3 separate regions of the Homo sapiens genome follow, and all the other regions are linked to region 1. The links are contacts of gene promoters, found by promoter capture Hi-C in human tissues and cell types (Jung and others, 2019). All regions are on one chromosome and are shown on one strand. Each heading gives the region's core, a stretch centred on a gene start or on the middle of the fragment in contact. The rest is flanking DNA. Distances are from core to core; before and after follow the strand shown. Region 1 holds the start of BMP7 (bone morphogenetic protein 7). Region 2 overlaps BMP7 (bone morphogenetic protein 7). Region 3 overlaps LOC105372687 (a long non-coding RNA gene).

Region 1 (4,929 bases), core at 924-3,423:
CGCTGCCGGGGGGTTAGTTTGAGCAAGTCTGGAGAATGTGCGCGCACATATGGAGGGGGAGCTCCCCGGCCCTCGCTGCAGCCCCAGGCTCGCGTCGCCGGGGTCGTCGCGGCTCCAGTCGGAAACCGGGACCCCCAGCCGCCCCCGCGGCGTCAGCTCTGAGATCCCGCGCAACCCAATCGCCAAAACCTGTGGTTTGCGCGCCACACGTGGTAAATGCTGAAAATAGATTCTGCCGGCCCGGGACCTACCACTAAATACTTAAAATAGAAGACTAGCGGCAGGGCACAGTGGCTCACGCCTGTAATCCCAGCACCACTTTGGGAGGCTGAGGCGGGAGGATCACCTGAGATCGGGAGTTCGAGACCAGCCTGCCTAACATGGAGAAACCCTGTCTCTACTAAAAATACAAAATTAGCCAGGCATGGTGGCGCATGCCTGTAATCCCAGCTACTCGGGAGGCTGAGGCACGAGAATCGCTTGAACCCGGGAGGCAGAGGTTGCGGTGAGCAGAGATCGCGCCATTGCACTCCAGACTGGGCGACAAGAGTGAAACTCCGTCTCAAAAAAAAAAAAAAAGAAAAGAAAAGAAAAAAAAAGAAAAAAGAAAAAAATAAACAAAGAAAGAAAACAAAGAAAATTAGCAATGGCACCGTTTCTTCCCCAGCTCCAGCCAAGAGAGAATGGGGCATCCGGCGGCCCGGAGAGGGGCCCCAAGGCGCTCGGAGCGCGCGGTACGCTAAGGCGGGCGCACCACGAGGGGACAGGTAGGGCTTGACAGGGAGGGTAAGGGGGTGCGACGGCCGCGATGCCAGAGCCAGGCAGGGCTGAGAGGGGCCCAGGAAGGGCGGCAAGGCAGCCTCGCCGGGAAGGGCCCTTTACATCCAGGTAGCGCGAGCCGCGCCGGCCCGGGACAGCTCACATGACCGAGCCCCGCGCTTTGAACGGCCCTTGCCTCCAGCCCCAGAGATGCGGCCGGCGGCGTAACATGGAGGGGACTTCGGAGGATCCCTCCTTCCCAGTAACCCCTACAGGCTCACCGAACCCAGCGCGCCCGACCTGGGGGCGCACACAGCTTGGGAGTCATAGGGCTGTGGGTGGGAGACCCTCGGGCAGGCACTGCGATTTCAGCCAGGAGCGGAAAGCTGGGCGGGCTGCATAGAAGAAGCGGCTCCCTCCCTCCCAGTCTCAAAGTGCCCCCGAAAGGAGACGCGTACCCTCGCCTGCCCTTACTCACCGAGGTTGACGAAGCTCATGACCATGTCGGCGTCGGTGAGGAAATGGCTATCTTGCAGGCTGGCCAGAGGGGGGCCCTGGGTACTGAAGACGGCCTTGTAGGGGTAGGAGAAGCCCTGGCCGCCGGGCCCGCCGCCCTCCTCCACCGCCATGGCGTTGTACAGGTCCAGCATGAACATGGGTGCCGAGTTGTGCTTGCCCTGGAGGTGCGGGCGCGGGCGGTGGGGCAAGCCCAAAATGGAGAGGATCTCGCGCTGCATCTCCCGCCGCTCCTGGCTGCGGAGGCGCCGGTGGATGAAGCTCGAGTGCACCTCGTTGTCCAGGCTGAAGTCGGCCAGGGCGGAGCGCAGCAGGAACAGGGGTGCCCAGAGCGCCACGAAGCTGTGCGGCGCCGCAGCTCGCAGTGAGCGCACGTGCATCGCGCCGGCTCTACGCGCTACCCGGGCTCCGGGCTCCGGGCCCGCACCGCCCCAGGTGGCAGAGGGGGCAGGCGGCCGTCCGCGCCGCTCGGTCACTTGCTGCAGACGGGCCCCGCTGCGCCCGCGCCAGACATGGCCCCTCCCCGGCCGGCCGCGCTCTGCCCGGACCCCCGCCCCCTGCTCGGTGCTGGCCCCGGGCCCCTCGCCCCGCACTCGCCCGGGCGCACCGCAGGGCTTGGAAAGCAGCCCCGGCGAACGAAAAGGCGAGTGAGGAGGCGGGCGCGGGTGGGAGGAGCAGCCAGCAAGCCTAGGAGTCCAGAGAGCCAACGCCGGGGAGGCAGCGAGGAGGCAGGCGGGCGGGCGAGCGCTCCTTCTTCCCGCTCCTCTGGCGCTCTCGCCCTCGGGCGGCGGCAACCCACCCTCTTCCAACCTCCGGCGCGGATAGCAGGGGCCCCGGGGCGCTCTCCCAGCCTTGTGCGCCCTGGATCGCACAAGAGGCCGCCTCGGGAGCGCCAGAGTGGTACGCGCTGGGGCCTGGGCGGAGGAGGAGGAGGAGGAGGACGGGCTTCGAGGGGCCCCTCCCGCGCCGGCGGCCTCCCACCTGCCCTCGGCCCCGCCCTCCCCCCAGCTGTGCCCAGTGGGTTCATTCATTCCCTCTAGAGCGCTCGACAAATGTTTACTGAGTGCCCACGGGGTGCCTAGAGCCTGGCGGGACGTCGCGGGGATGCGGCTGGAGGAATCGGAGCCGGCCCTGCCCTCTCGGCACTCGCGGTCCGGACCAGGAAGGCGGCCCGAGCAGGACGGGTGGGCTGCGGACCGCGGTGGGAAAAGTTGGGGGAGCGCGGAGGTGGCGCGGAAATAGAAGGCTTCCTGGAAGCGGTGACCCTTGAGCCGGTCTTGCCCCTCAGTCCCTGTATCCTTTTAAGCCAGCCACGCTGACCCCTCCGCGCCTCCCTGAAGCCGTTGCCAGCCTGTCTCTGCGCTCGCCATTCCCTCCGCCTGGACCTCTCCCCACTCACCACCTCCCGCCCCCATCAGACGCTGCTTTCTCCTCCCAGAGACCTCCAAGACCTGCCAAGCTGAGGTTGTTTCCTCGCCTCGCCCCTCGCACGTTTGTTTTCTTTCCTGTAGTTTCTCTTGCTGTCTGGAATTGCTGTTTGAGTTACTCCGTGCCTTCTTTATTGCCTTCTTACCCCCGCTAGACACCCAGAGCACTGGGGCCCGGATCAGCGATCTTCTCCGCACCTCTGGTACCCGCAGTGCCTTGAACCCAGCGCCTGGTAGCCACTGTAGCTGCGCAGTCACGATTTGTTGAGTGAATAAGTGAACTGCGTGTGAGCTGGGGGGGTTCTTCCCACCTCCTCCTCTTCGGGGCCCTGTATCTTTCCAGCCACCCCTCAGCCTGAGACCAGACACCCCAGCCCCACCACTAGGGCTTCCCATCAGCCCTCCTCGTGGCAGTGCCTGGGGAGCCAGCCGCTGGTCTTCACATCCTCTTCCCCTCCAAGGGTCTGTGCCTGAGACCTCCCCATCGGCCTCCTCTCCTGTCTCTCCTCATCCATTCATCCCTCAATCAATACCGAGCCATGCACGCTGTCACAGGGAGTCCCCAGACCACTCAGAACCCACCGGTCCCTCTGCCGGTGTGGGATCTCAAGGGAATTACTGCACCCAGAGTGGCAGTGAGGGCAGCGGGGTAAAAGTTCATCCTGTCTCCTTCCCCTCCTGGGGCTGGGTGAGAGAGTGGGTCCCCAGAGGGCCTTTGGGATGAACTGGGAAGGGCTGAGGTTGGGGAAGCGGGGGCGCTTGTCTGGGAGGGGCTCTGGCTAAGCCTCACTTTGGGGCTGTCCTTCCTGGAGCAGGAGAGCTGGGGAAGAGAATTATGGTCTTCTACAGTTTTCTGGAGCAGAAGTAGTTTGGCCAAGTGGCCCTCTGGGTCTCCCTTGGGGACTTTTGGACTAGATGGCAGCCTGAGGGGCCACATGGGTGGAGAAAGGGGAGGCCAGAGGCCAGGCAAGGAGCAGAAAAATGCCAGCCTGCAGGTCCTGGCCATTTACACACAGGCCCCAGGCTGTGGGATGGAACAGGTCTTGAGCCCCATGCCAGGGAGGGGCCTCTACCCACCCACCAGGCAAGGCCCTCAAACCACCCCCACCACCTGCTCTTCATCCATTCACTCCTTCCTTCAACAGACAAGCATGGAGCACAGGATATCAGGAGGCGAGCTGTGGGGCCTGCAACCTGGACAGTCGTACAGGGCCCCCCAGCTCTTAAGGGCCCCACACTTGGTTTCCTACTCTGAGGTCACCATATGTGGTTCTGAATCACCTATGAACAAAGTACCCCCTGCCCCGTACTAATTTTGCACCTGGCCCAGATATTATGTGGCCAGTCCCAGGGCCAAGCACCATGCTGGGCAGGAAGACATGGCCATGAGCGAACCCACATGGCAGACTCCATCAAGGAGCCGGCCTCCAGGCCAGGGAAGCAAAGCAAGAGCCTTAAATAAGATTCAGGGACTGAAGGAGAGGCAGATCTTGTCTATCACTCTCTCTGGAAACAATTCAGAAGCCAGGCAGAGGAGGACATGCAGGAGGGAGAAGGAAAGGTGGGCATCCTGGCAAGCAGGAATCCTACCCCAGGGAGACTGGGGAAATTGCAGGAGTGCCACAGTCGTCCAGGGTCCATCTGAGAGTGTACAACTGGAGAGCCTGGGTCACTTCAGCCTGCAATAAGTGACAGGCAGTGGGGGCGGGGGCGCAGATAAACAGGGTGAGGTGATGGAGGGTGGGAAGGGGAGTTTTTGGAGGAGATGCCACTGACCTGAGTCCTGAAAGACAAGAAAGAGACAGGCTTTTCCAGGGAAAGGCATCCCAGGTGGAGGAACAGCAAGTGCTTGAGCCCTGCAGAGCAGGGAACAGAAACCAGGCTCGGTCCCCAGCCCTGCACACGCCCTCCAGCGCTGGCTTGCTAGGGACAGGCTATGCCACCTCCAGTGCCAGTAGAGAAAAAGGAGGTCATTTTCTTCCAAAGTCTGAAATAATAAGGAGCCAAAGCAGCCCTGTTCTTCAGTAGTAGTCTCTGCTTTTTATCTACTCTCAAATCTTTTGGAGGGATCTTCACAAGCAGGTGAGGCTGGGGGCAGGGGCAGCAGGTCTTGGTGCTACAATTTACATATGAAACAACTGATCCGTCAGTGTCTAAGCAAGGATTCTAGTTTACCCTTCTTTGTGCATCTCACCTGAGCCTATTCTGAGCCTGGCACACAGCAGGT
Region 2 (4,929 bases), core at 1,652-4,151, 50 kb before region 1:
AAATCCCCAGAGTGGTCCTCGGGTCCCACAGTGGGTGCTCAGGGATGTAGGCTGTAGGGCTCCAGGCTCTGAGTTGAGGAAAATTGGAGTTAAATTTCAGTGAAGTAACCCTGAGCAAGTCAGTCTCTGTCCATCAGGTTCTTTTGTTTGTAAAATGGAGGTAGCCATGAGGATTGTTCTGAGAATGAGTTAAATGGAAAGATATGCTCAAGATGCCAGCGCAAAGCCAGAGACTCAAGGTTCGCAGCTGGTTGGAGCAAACCTCAATGTCAGTGTGAATCTTCCACCATGGGATTCAAGCTGCCTTGGCTCTAAAGTAAGATCACAGCTGCAGTGAGCTGACCCCAACTCAAGATGGAACCATCTTAGAACAAGGTGCGGAGCGAGCCCTCTGAACCGTATGGTACCTGAGAGGCGAGCACTGTTGTCCCCTCTCACAGGTGGGAGACTGAGGCTCAGAGATATGCAGGTAGTGAATGGAACCACCCCAGAGCCTTGTTCCAGCAAAGTGTCACCCCTGCACGGTGATGGTTTGATGGTGGAGGGAGAGCTACCACCCAGAGAACCCGGGGGTTCCCCTTCCACTCTTCTCACCCCGCACTCCCCCTGCCCCAGCAGCTTGCAGGGGCTGAGCAATTAACTTCCCTGCCTCAAACCCTTTATCAGCTCTTAGGATAAAAAGCCAAAGCTCTCTAATGTGTTCTGTGATAAAGAAGACTATGGAACTGACAGTCCAAACCGAGAAACTGGGGAGAGAGAGGAGGCATTATTGTCAACTCCAGGTCATCCAACCTGTAAGGCCCTGGATGGTCCGGCCCCTGTCTCCACAGCCTCCTCCCACCCAGCCCTCCTCATCTGTGCCAGTCTCCAGCCCACCACAGCCCCTCACACATGCTGTTTCCGCTGCCTGCAACACTGTTCCCTGCCTTTTCACCTCCCTCACACCTGCCTGTTCTTGAGCATCCCAGGGAAGCGTCCACTGATGCCCTAATGGTGCATCCACGTCGGACACGCTCCAAGCCCAAGTCCTCTCCCCTGCGCCATCTGGGCTGGAGTTTCAGTTTGTTTGTATAGTTTTTTGGGTTCTCCTCTTTTCCTGCCAGGTTTTAAGCTTTTTGTCAGCAAGAACCAGCCCTATTTTATTCAGCCCTGGAGCGGCCTCTCCACCAGGCACACAGCTTAGCACAAAGCAGGCCTCAGATGCACGCTGGACAAATGTGCTGGTATCCTCTGCATCCTTATGGCCAGTAAGGTTTTCTGGTTTCACTTCCAATAGTTTACATTATTAAAAGAGAAATGGTAAATACTTTTTCAGATTATTCAGGTAGCTCCAGAAATGGCTCTGACTCACAGTTCACTGGGGCCTTAGCCCACCCAGCCCACTCTATGTCCCACTGGGCACCCACACTCCCAGGCCATGGGCACCCAGCTGCACATCCTAGTTGAAGGGAAACCCTCATCAGCCCCTGGGCACCTCCATACCCCCCACCTTCACAGGCCTGGCTATGGAACCAGGGGGCTGTCAAATTACCTCAAATTGACCCCTCACTGGAAACTGCCAGGCTGCATGGGCTTCCGGTTGAGTGCCCCCATTTACTGTCCCCATCACCTCTTCGGAGCCACCTCCTTTCCCCACATCAGGCAAAAATCAAGAGGACTCAGGTGGGCAGAAAGCAACAGCTGGGAAGAAAGCACATCTCACATTTCCTTTTGGACCTGACTCTTGTCCCTCTTTGCTTAAGATATCAGGGTTTGAGCCCCAGAATTTCTGGAAAACTGGAGGCTCTACTGTTCCATTCAACCCAGGCATGATCCATCCAGAAACCCAGTGGAACTGAGCCGCGAGCTGGATTCCAGCTCACAGAACACACCAAGAACTCTGGTGAAACATCAAGAACTCTGGGGGGTCCCCCCAGAAAAATCTGGGGGGCACTGCAGAGCTTCTGACACGGCTCTGGGGGAAATCCCACACGGATGGGCAGCTGCCTGCATCTGGCACTGTGGAGGTGGGCGGGCAGCCATGGAGGATGGGGAGACTCATCTTTCTAGACTTCTCCTGGGGACCGCATTTCCTCCAGCCTCCAGGTCCAGACCAAAATAGAATGAGGTAAATTCAGCCCCTTTCCTGAAGCACACTCAAGGAATAAACAAGCACCACAAATACAGTCTTCGGGCTGGGTCATCTTTCCAACCTCATTTTTTTTTTTTTTTAAGAGAACCACAGGCTGTTTTAAGATTCCAAACCCAGAGACAGAAAAAGTGCAGCAAAGCAGGGCGACAAGGGGAAAGAAACTTGACAGTGCTTTGCAGACAGAAACAAGTGACGCAATTTCCAAATTCAAGATTCTCAAAAACAGAGGCTGGGTTGGAACATCTAGAGAAGGCCAGAGCGGGCTGTTCTAAGACTTATTCTCACGGTAGCATCCTGAAGCCGGGGGGGTCCAGGAAGGGGGCAGGCTGAGGACATCAGCTTGCACTTGGTAGGCCCTCACCAGGTCCCAGAAGCTGTGCCGGTGCCAAAGCTGCCCCTTGCCAGGAAGCCCTCCCGGCTGCCCTGTGTGGTTGACACTTGGCCTCTGTCATGCTTCAGTGACCCCAGAGGCAGGTCCTGAGTCAAGGACTTGAATGCAAGTAGTTTGTCTGAGAGGTGACCCCAGGAACCACCTGGAGAGGGCGGGGAAGTAAGGCAAGCTTGGAGATTGTCAAAACAGAACACTGTGGGCCTGGGACTTCAGCCCGTCAGAACCTCCTGGAGCAGCTCCAGAGGGGTGCACCTGAGGACGAGGGCGCTGTCTCCTGAGGGCGAGGGGGCTGTCTCCTGAGGGCGAGGGGGCTGTCTCCTGAGGGCGAGGGGCTGTCTCCTGAGGGTGAGGGGCTGTCTCTTGAGGGCGAGGGGCTGTCTCCTGAGGGTGAGGGACTGTCTCCTGAGGGTGAGGGGGCTGGGGAATTCTCCATAGACCTTGACTCCGACTCCTCAGTGGGTCAGAGAAAGTTCCCCGCAGAGCTCCCACATAGGGGAAGGTGTGTGGGGAGGGGAAGCCTCGAGGTCTGCGGCTCAGCGGGTCCATCTCTCCGAGGAGGAGTGGAGGCCCTGTCCAAGGTGGCAGTTGGTGAGGCTGACATGGTGGGAGTCACCACCTGAGCAGCCAGACATGGGCTGGAGGAGAAATGCTGTCTACATTCATGGCAGGGACCCCCGCCAGGACAACCTGTGGTGGCATCTGCAGAGAAAAGACTCAAACACCAGTGATGCTGGGGAAGCTGGAGGATCCCTCTTATGTCCAGGAGCCAGACTAGGGCCTCAGAGATGCTTTTCCTACTGCACCGTGAGCCCCCGCATGTGGAACACCCAAGGGGAAAGGGATGGAGGCAGGACTCAGCTGGAGAAAGCTTTCCAAGGAGAATGACCATGACAGGTTTGTTGGGAGGCTCCTGGTTCCAGCTCTCAATCCCACTTGCAAACCTGACTCCCAAACCACCCCACCCACCCTCTCCCACTTCCGGGACCTGTGGGTTCAACCCCAGAGCAAGAGGCTGAGCCCGCTCCCTAAGCCCACAGCATGGAGGGGAAAGAGCCTGCTATTGAGGACACCTCAAGTGCCATCTTTAAAGCGCCCCTAACTAGGCCCTGGGGAAGAGTTAGGAGACAAAGAACCCTTACCCCAAAAAGGCTCTTATAATCTCATTTCCACTCAAGAAGCAAAGCCACATGGAGTGCTCTGTGCCAGGCACTGAGGTCGCCATAGCTGAAAGCCCAGGGGTTACAAGGACTCCAGTCTGGGGACCCCGTGTGGCTGTGACCCACGTCACTCAAGTTCAGAAGACATCGAGCCACAGCCAGAGTGTAGGGATTCAGGTTGAATTTTAAAATAGGTGGGGCTGAGATAGACGGAGCGATAGTGGGAGAGGACTCTGCATCAACTCCCTCCAAACGCTGGGTGACTGTCACTTTCAGAAACAAGCAAAGCAGGAGAAACACATAGGCAGGAGGAGCCCCAGGGAATGTGGCCACTGAAGGGTAGGTGGCGTCCTGGACAGGACAGAAGGACAAGAAGTAAAAGCAAAGGGGTCCGGAATAAATGATTGACTTTCATTAATAAAAATGCAGATGCTGGGTCCTTAATTATGAAAACTGTACCCTATTGATGTTAGGTGTTAAAACAGGGGAAACCAGGCGTGTCTGCGCATCTGTGTGCTGTGTCTGTGTCTGTGTTTCTGTGGATCTGTCTGTGTTTCCACGTGTTTACGTGTACAGGAGACAGCTGGAAATGAGGCTGGGGCTGAAAGGTATCTGTATAAAGATACCTATCAACACAGATATCAACAGACATCTGTATCCAGGGAGATGGCAAGGCCAGGGCCGGCTTCATGGGCATCTGACCCGTGCAGTCACACAGGGCCCGACACACAGAAGTACGCCGAGCTTGGTTTCATGCTCTGCTGTTGCTGTCTTGAAATCCTTTATACATTTTTGACACATTTTCATTTTGCACTGGGCCCAGAAGGTGACACAACCAGTCCTGGGAGCTTGTTTTTAAACATTCATGATGAAAACTCCTAGCCCCTACACCTGACTAGTTGGGGTTAAACATGGGAACCTGTATTTTTCTCTTCCAATATATTTCCAGGAGGTTCTGACAACAGCTGGGTTTGAGCACCACCTCGGACAGATGTGTGTGAGGAGCTGCACAGCTGGTGTTTGGTGGTAGCTGGTGTTTGTTTGGTGGTAGCTGGTGTTTGGTGGTAGCTGGTGTTTCTTTGGTGGTAGCTGGTGTGTGTTCGGTGGTAGCTGGTGTGTGTTTGCTGGTAGCTGGTGTTCGGAGGTAGCTGGTGTTTGGTGGTAGCTGGTGTTTTGTAGTAGTAGCTGGTGTTTGGTAGTAGCTGGTGTTTGGTGGTAGCTGGTGTTTGTTCAGTGGTAGCTGGTGTTTG
Region 3 (4,929 bases), core at 1,113-3,612, 37 kb after region 1:
AGCTCCGGTGACATCCAGGGGACTGCATGAGGCAGACCCCCAGGGAGTTGGTGTCGAAGCCTCCTTCTCCCGCTCCTGTCCCCACTTCCAGTCTGCAACCGCGCTCTGCCAATCTCATCCCCCAAGGAGCCCCCAAATGCATCGGCATTGCTGTGGCCCTGTCACCACCATCTCAACCCGGTCAGTGCTGCCTCTCCCTGGACAGCTGTCCCTCGATCTGCGATCACTTCGTAGCTATCCATTCTCCACGTTGAGTCCAGAACCATCTATGGAATCATGAATAGCAGCCAATCACAGTGAGCCTCACTAACTTCCAGGTGCTGGTCTAAGGGCATCGTGCACATTAACCCATTTCAGCTTCTTTTTTTTTTTTTTTTTTTTGAGATGGAGTCTCGCACTGTCACCCAGGCTGGAGTGCAACGGCGTGATCTCGGCTCACTGCAAGCTCCACCTCCCGGGCCCATGCCATTCTCCTCCCTCAGCCTCCTGAGTAGCTGGGACTACAGGCACCCACCAGCAAGCCCGGCTACTTTTTTGTATTTTTAGTAGAGATGGGGTTTCACCATGTTAGCCAGGATGGTCTCGATCTCCTGACCTCATGATCCGCCCTCCTCGGCCTCCCAAAGTGCTGGGATTACAGGTGTGAGCCACCGTGCCTGGCCTTTTTTTTTTTTAGATGGAATCTTGCTCTGCCTCCCAGGCTGGAGTGCAATGGCACAATCTCAGCTCAGTGCAACCTCCACCTCCCAGGTTCAAGCGATTCTCCTGCCTCAGCCTCCCCGAGTAGCTGGGATTACAGGCGCCTGCCACCATGCCAGGCTAAATTTTGTATATTTAGTAGAGATGAGGTTTCACCATGTTGGCAAAGCGGGTCTCAAAGTCCTGATCAGGTGATCCGCCTCCCTCAGCCACCCAAAGTGCTGGGATTACAGGCATGAGCCACCGCACCCGGCCCATTTCAGCTTCTTAACCAACCCATGGCGGATGGTACAGAAGAGGAAACTGAGACCCATACAATAAATAACGTGCTTTAAGTCCCATATCTCAAAAGTGGTAGTAGCAAGACGTGAACCCAAATCGTCAGATTCCAAACCACCTACTGTGAACCACACACCATGCGCGCAGAATGTCTGGGGCTCTCTTTGCATCCATGTCCAGCTAAAGTGGCTTTGCAGGGGCAAGATCTGTGTTTCCAAGGATCCTTCTTTCAGGGGCTTCAGGTTAGTTTTTGCAAGGAGAGGTTCTTGTGAGAAACCTGGACAGTGGAAGAAAAGAAGGAGCTGCTGATCTCCGAGGCAGCTGCAGCCAGGCCCACAGGAGACCTGAGGATTCCCAGGGGCTTCCCAGTGATCTCCTGACAACCACACACCCAGAGCTTCTTCTTGAGCCCTCTGTGAAGCAGGCCATGATCTTTCCTGGCAACATCTCCATCCTTCACTACCTTTGCTCCTGCAAAAGCCCCCAATTCCTCGATTAAACCCCACAAACTTGGAGTACCTAGAGTAGCTTCTATTTCCTAAGCTCTGATCCACTGCCATCCACTATTGATGCCTGAGGCATACTGATCATTTCAACCCCCACCTCACGATTGCTCTTAGACAAGGACCAACACCCGCACCAGTCCTGCAGGTGCTACTTGCACCGCTCCACGGTCCTCTCCAGTCTCCTCTCCCCATTTCCTGTCCTGTTCCCGATACCTCTCTGCTGTCCAGCCTCACCCACTTCTGAGGTCACCATCCTTCCTTGGAACATCTGCACCTGCAGTACCTTTTGCCTGGAACTCTCTTCTCTGCCACTCAGACCAGGTAACTTCTCATCTGTCAGACTTCAGCTCAGACATCACCTCCTCCATGGAGCCATCCCTGATTCCCCAAGGGGGAATTCCTCAAGGGATGCCCTCGAGGTTTAGGGCACTGGTCACATTGTTATTTGTGTGGTTGTGATATGGTTTGGCTGTGTCCCCACCCAAATCTCATGTTGAATTGTATTAAGATAATTAATAGTTCCCATAATCCCCATGTGTCACGGGAGGGACCTGGTGGGAGGTAATTGAATTGTGGGGTGGTTACCCTCATGCTCTTCTCATGATAGTGAGCGAGTTCTCACAAGAGCTGATGGCTTTGTAAGGGGCTTTCCCCACTTTTGCTCAGCACTTCTCCTTGCTGCTGCCATGTGAAGAAGTATGTGTTTGCTTCCCCTTCCGCCATGATTGTCAGTTTCCTGAGGCCTTCCCAGACATGCTGAACTGAGGGTCAATTAAACCTCTTTTCTTTATAAATTACCCAGTCTCGGCCAGGCGTGATGTCTCACGCCTGTAATCCCAGCACTTTAGGAGGCTGAGGTGGGTGGATCACCTGTGGTCAGGAGTTCAAGCCTGACCAACATGGTGAAACCCCATCTCTACTAAAAATACAAAATTACCCGGGTGTGGTGGCGCATGCCTATAATCCCAGCTACTCTGGAGGCTGAGTCAGGAGAATCACTCGAACCCAGGAGGTGGAGGTTGCAGTGAGCCGAGATCACGCATTGCACTCCAGCCTAGGCAACAAGAGTAAAACCCCATCTCAAAAAAAAAAATTACCCAGTCTTGTGTATGTTTTTATTAGCAGCATAAGAACAGACTAATACAGGCTGATTCTCGAGACTGTAACTTCAGGAGAGCAGGACCATGCCTGTTGGCTGTCCATGGCATCCCCAGCCCAGAGCAGTGCCCACCCCCAAAGATTCTTATTAAGTAACCACTGCGTAAGGAACAGCCCTGGGGGAAGACTGGGCCTAGATAACCCTGAGACAGGCAGTCCTCACCATACATGATGCCTATAGGGACAGAGGAGAAGGTGTGAGATTGCTCCCAGCCAGGAAACACAGGGCGTCACAATGACCCCAGCTTTGGAGAAATACAGGGATGGGGCAGCCGGGGACACAGTGGGAGAGGCTGAGAGAGCACTGTGTCTTCTGGCCAGGCAGGAAGCTGGATATGGAGGTAGGCCTGCGGGAAGAAGGTTAAGTACCAACATGTATTCTTTTGTCTGTAAAACAGACCCACTCTCTTCATCAGGGGAACTGCTTTTTCCCAGTATGCTTTCCCACCATGGTCCTGGTACAGCTGCTGATCCCTGTGACCAGATCTCCTGGCTATGGTGTGGGGCACAAGACTCACAGCCTCATGCCCTTGGCCACCATGGTTTTGGGTCTTTACAAAGGTATTTTAATGATGCAGGGAAAAGTTTACACTACTTAAGTGAAGCAGCAACACATACAATTCTATGAGTACAATGACCTCAATTGTATAAAAATATCTATAGTGCATTTAAAAGCGCTAGAAGGAAATATGGCTTCCTCTGAGTGTGAGATTGTGGGCAATTTTTTCCTCTATATTTTCCAATATGTCATGCGTTACCCTATAACCCCGGAAGAAAACATTGCTAAAAGGGGGGAACCACACCTGAATAGCCTCTTAAGAAGAGCGTTCTGCCCACAGGTTGCCACGGGGCTGCAAGCGAGGCAGCTGTTGAAGGGGTGACAGCCAGAGCTCCTCGGGCCACTGCCGTGACAACAGAAAGGGAGAAGGTGAACACTATGAGAGATTTCTAAGAAAGATCTTTGTACAGGACATTTGATGGTTTTGTCTTCTCTTCTCAGAATGTTAATCTTTTCTTTCTTCTAGGACTTTTCCTCAGAGACTATAAACTGAATGCTTGTACCCCCAGTGTGATGGGATTTGGAGATGAAGCTTTTGGGGGATGACCAGGGTTAGATGTCAGGAGGCCCTGGTCTGATGTGATGGGAGTGGTGCCCTTCTTAGCAGGGACACCGACCAGAGCGTTTGCTCGTTGATGCCCTACCTCCGTGCACACCGAGGAAAGGCTGTGTGAGCCACAGTGAGAAGGCGGCCATCTGTAAGCCAGGAAGAGGGCCTGCGCCAGAACCTGACCATCTTGACACCTGGACCTTGGACTTCCAGCCTCCAGAATGGTGAAAATATATATTTCTGTTGTTTAAGCCACCCAGTTTACGGTATTTTGCTACAGCAGCCGAAGTAGGCTAATACAGAGACCCCCACCCAACCCTGCAACTCTCTCCACATAGTCCGGTGGGGCTGAGCCTGGCTCTGTCCACGGGTGAACTGGGCAGAGAGTATTGCATCCTCCCACCCCCACGAGCAGGGATGGACAAGCCTGGGTCAAAGATGGCTCAAGGATGGACACCTGACCCAGGCCAAGTTCATCAGAGTCAATACCACTCAGTCCCAGAATTCCTTTTGGAAGTCTTTTGAGAGGCAACTCTCTCTGCTGGGGTTATTAGGAGCTTTGGACATACCTGGAGCTCCAGACCACCATCTTTCTGGGAAAGTGCCTGCCTGAAAAGGAGACAACACAGAGAAAGGCACTATTTGAACACCTGGACACAGCCTTGCCTGAATGAAGCCATCTACTCTGCACATTTCAGTTACATGAGCTAATGTTTATTTTTCTGTTGGGCTGGTTTGATTAGGTTTTCTGTCACTTGCAACCTAGAGTCTCACTCATACCCAAAGGCAAAACACACATAGTTGCTTTTGAAGTTGCTCCAGTAGCCACACCTCCCAGATTTGCCCTTGGTGTTCTGCAGATGGCTGTGAGCTGGCCCTCCTGCCCAACAAGTCAGGCTCCTTTGGGGGGCCTGGGGCAAATCATCACAGCTGCCCAAATTCACTCCCCAACACCTGCTACTCTTTCTTCTTCCTCTCCTCCTCCTCTCCCCTTACATTCTTCCCCCTCTTCTTCTCTGTAGAGCCTGTCTTCTCTCTTGAGGGAGACTTGCAGACAAGTTGAATCTGAGTGTACAATCTAGAGCCAGACATCCAGGATACCATAAACATCAGACATCAAGTATTCCAGCTGCGTGACCTAAGCAGATTTCTTAACCTCTCTGAGACTCAGACTTTTT

What was found. The method cuts DNA at HindIII sites, captures the fragments that hold promoters and counts their contacts. A contact is called where the count stands out against the background at its distance.
Region 2: a fragment that was not itself captured here is called in contact with the fragment with the promoter of BMP7 in region 1 in 4 of the 25 tissues and cell types used here (bladder, lymphoblastoid cells, mesendoderm cells and 1 more).
Region 3: a fragment that was not itself captured here is called in contact with the fragment with the promoter of BMP7 in region 1 in 1 of the 25 tissues and cell types used here (adrenal gland).

Annotation. Positions count from the first base shown.
Region 1 is chr20:57,264,468-57,269,396 of GRCh38, forward strand. It overlaps BMP7 (bone morphogenetic protein 7), which reads right to left and starts at 2,174. Exons shown (of 7, transcript NM_001719.3): 1 at 1,238-2,174. The coding sequence starts at 1,655. It overlaps LOC112268270 (translation initiation factor IF-2-like), which reads left to right and starts at 1,973. Exons shown (of 2, transcript NR_171651.1): 1 at 1,973-2,175; 2 at 2,316-2,820. RefSeq lists an enhancer at 1-553, a promoter at 1,662-4,929 and a cis regulatory region at 2,281-2,373. The HindIII fragment of the contact is 13,311 bases long and covers 1-4,929 here.
Region 2 is chr20:57,213,702-57,218,630 of GRCh38, forward strand. The region is part of intron 2 of BMP7 (bone morphogenetic protein 7); the gene reads right to left. It overlaps BMP7-AS1 (BMP7 antisense RNA 1), which reads left to right. Exons shown (of 4, transcript NR_110631.1): 1 at 1-375; 2 at 667-794; 3 at 1,104-1,247; 4 at 1,807-2,165. Among named protein-coding and RNA genes, the nearest start is that of BMP7-AS1, 2.5 kb to the left of the region's middle. The HindIII fragment of the contact is 5,350 bases long and covers 227-4,929 here.
Region 3 is chr20:57,301,367-57,306,295 of GRCh38, forward strand. It overlaps LOC105372687 (a long non-coding RNA gene), which reads right to left. Exons shown (of 12, transcript XR_007067670.1): 3 at 4,321-4,356; 4 at 3,446-3,544; 5 at 2,806-2,989; 6 at 1,115-1,255. Among named protein-coding and RNA genes, the nearest start is that of MIR4325, 18 kb to the right of the region's middle. RefSeq lists an enhancer at 1-456. The HindIII fragment of the contact is 5,243 bases long and covers 1-4,929 here.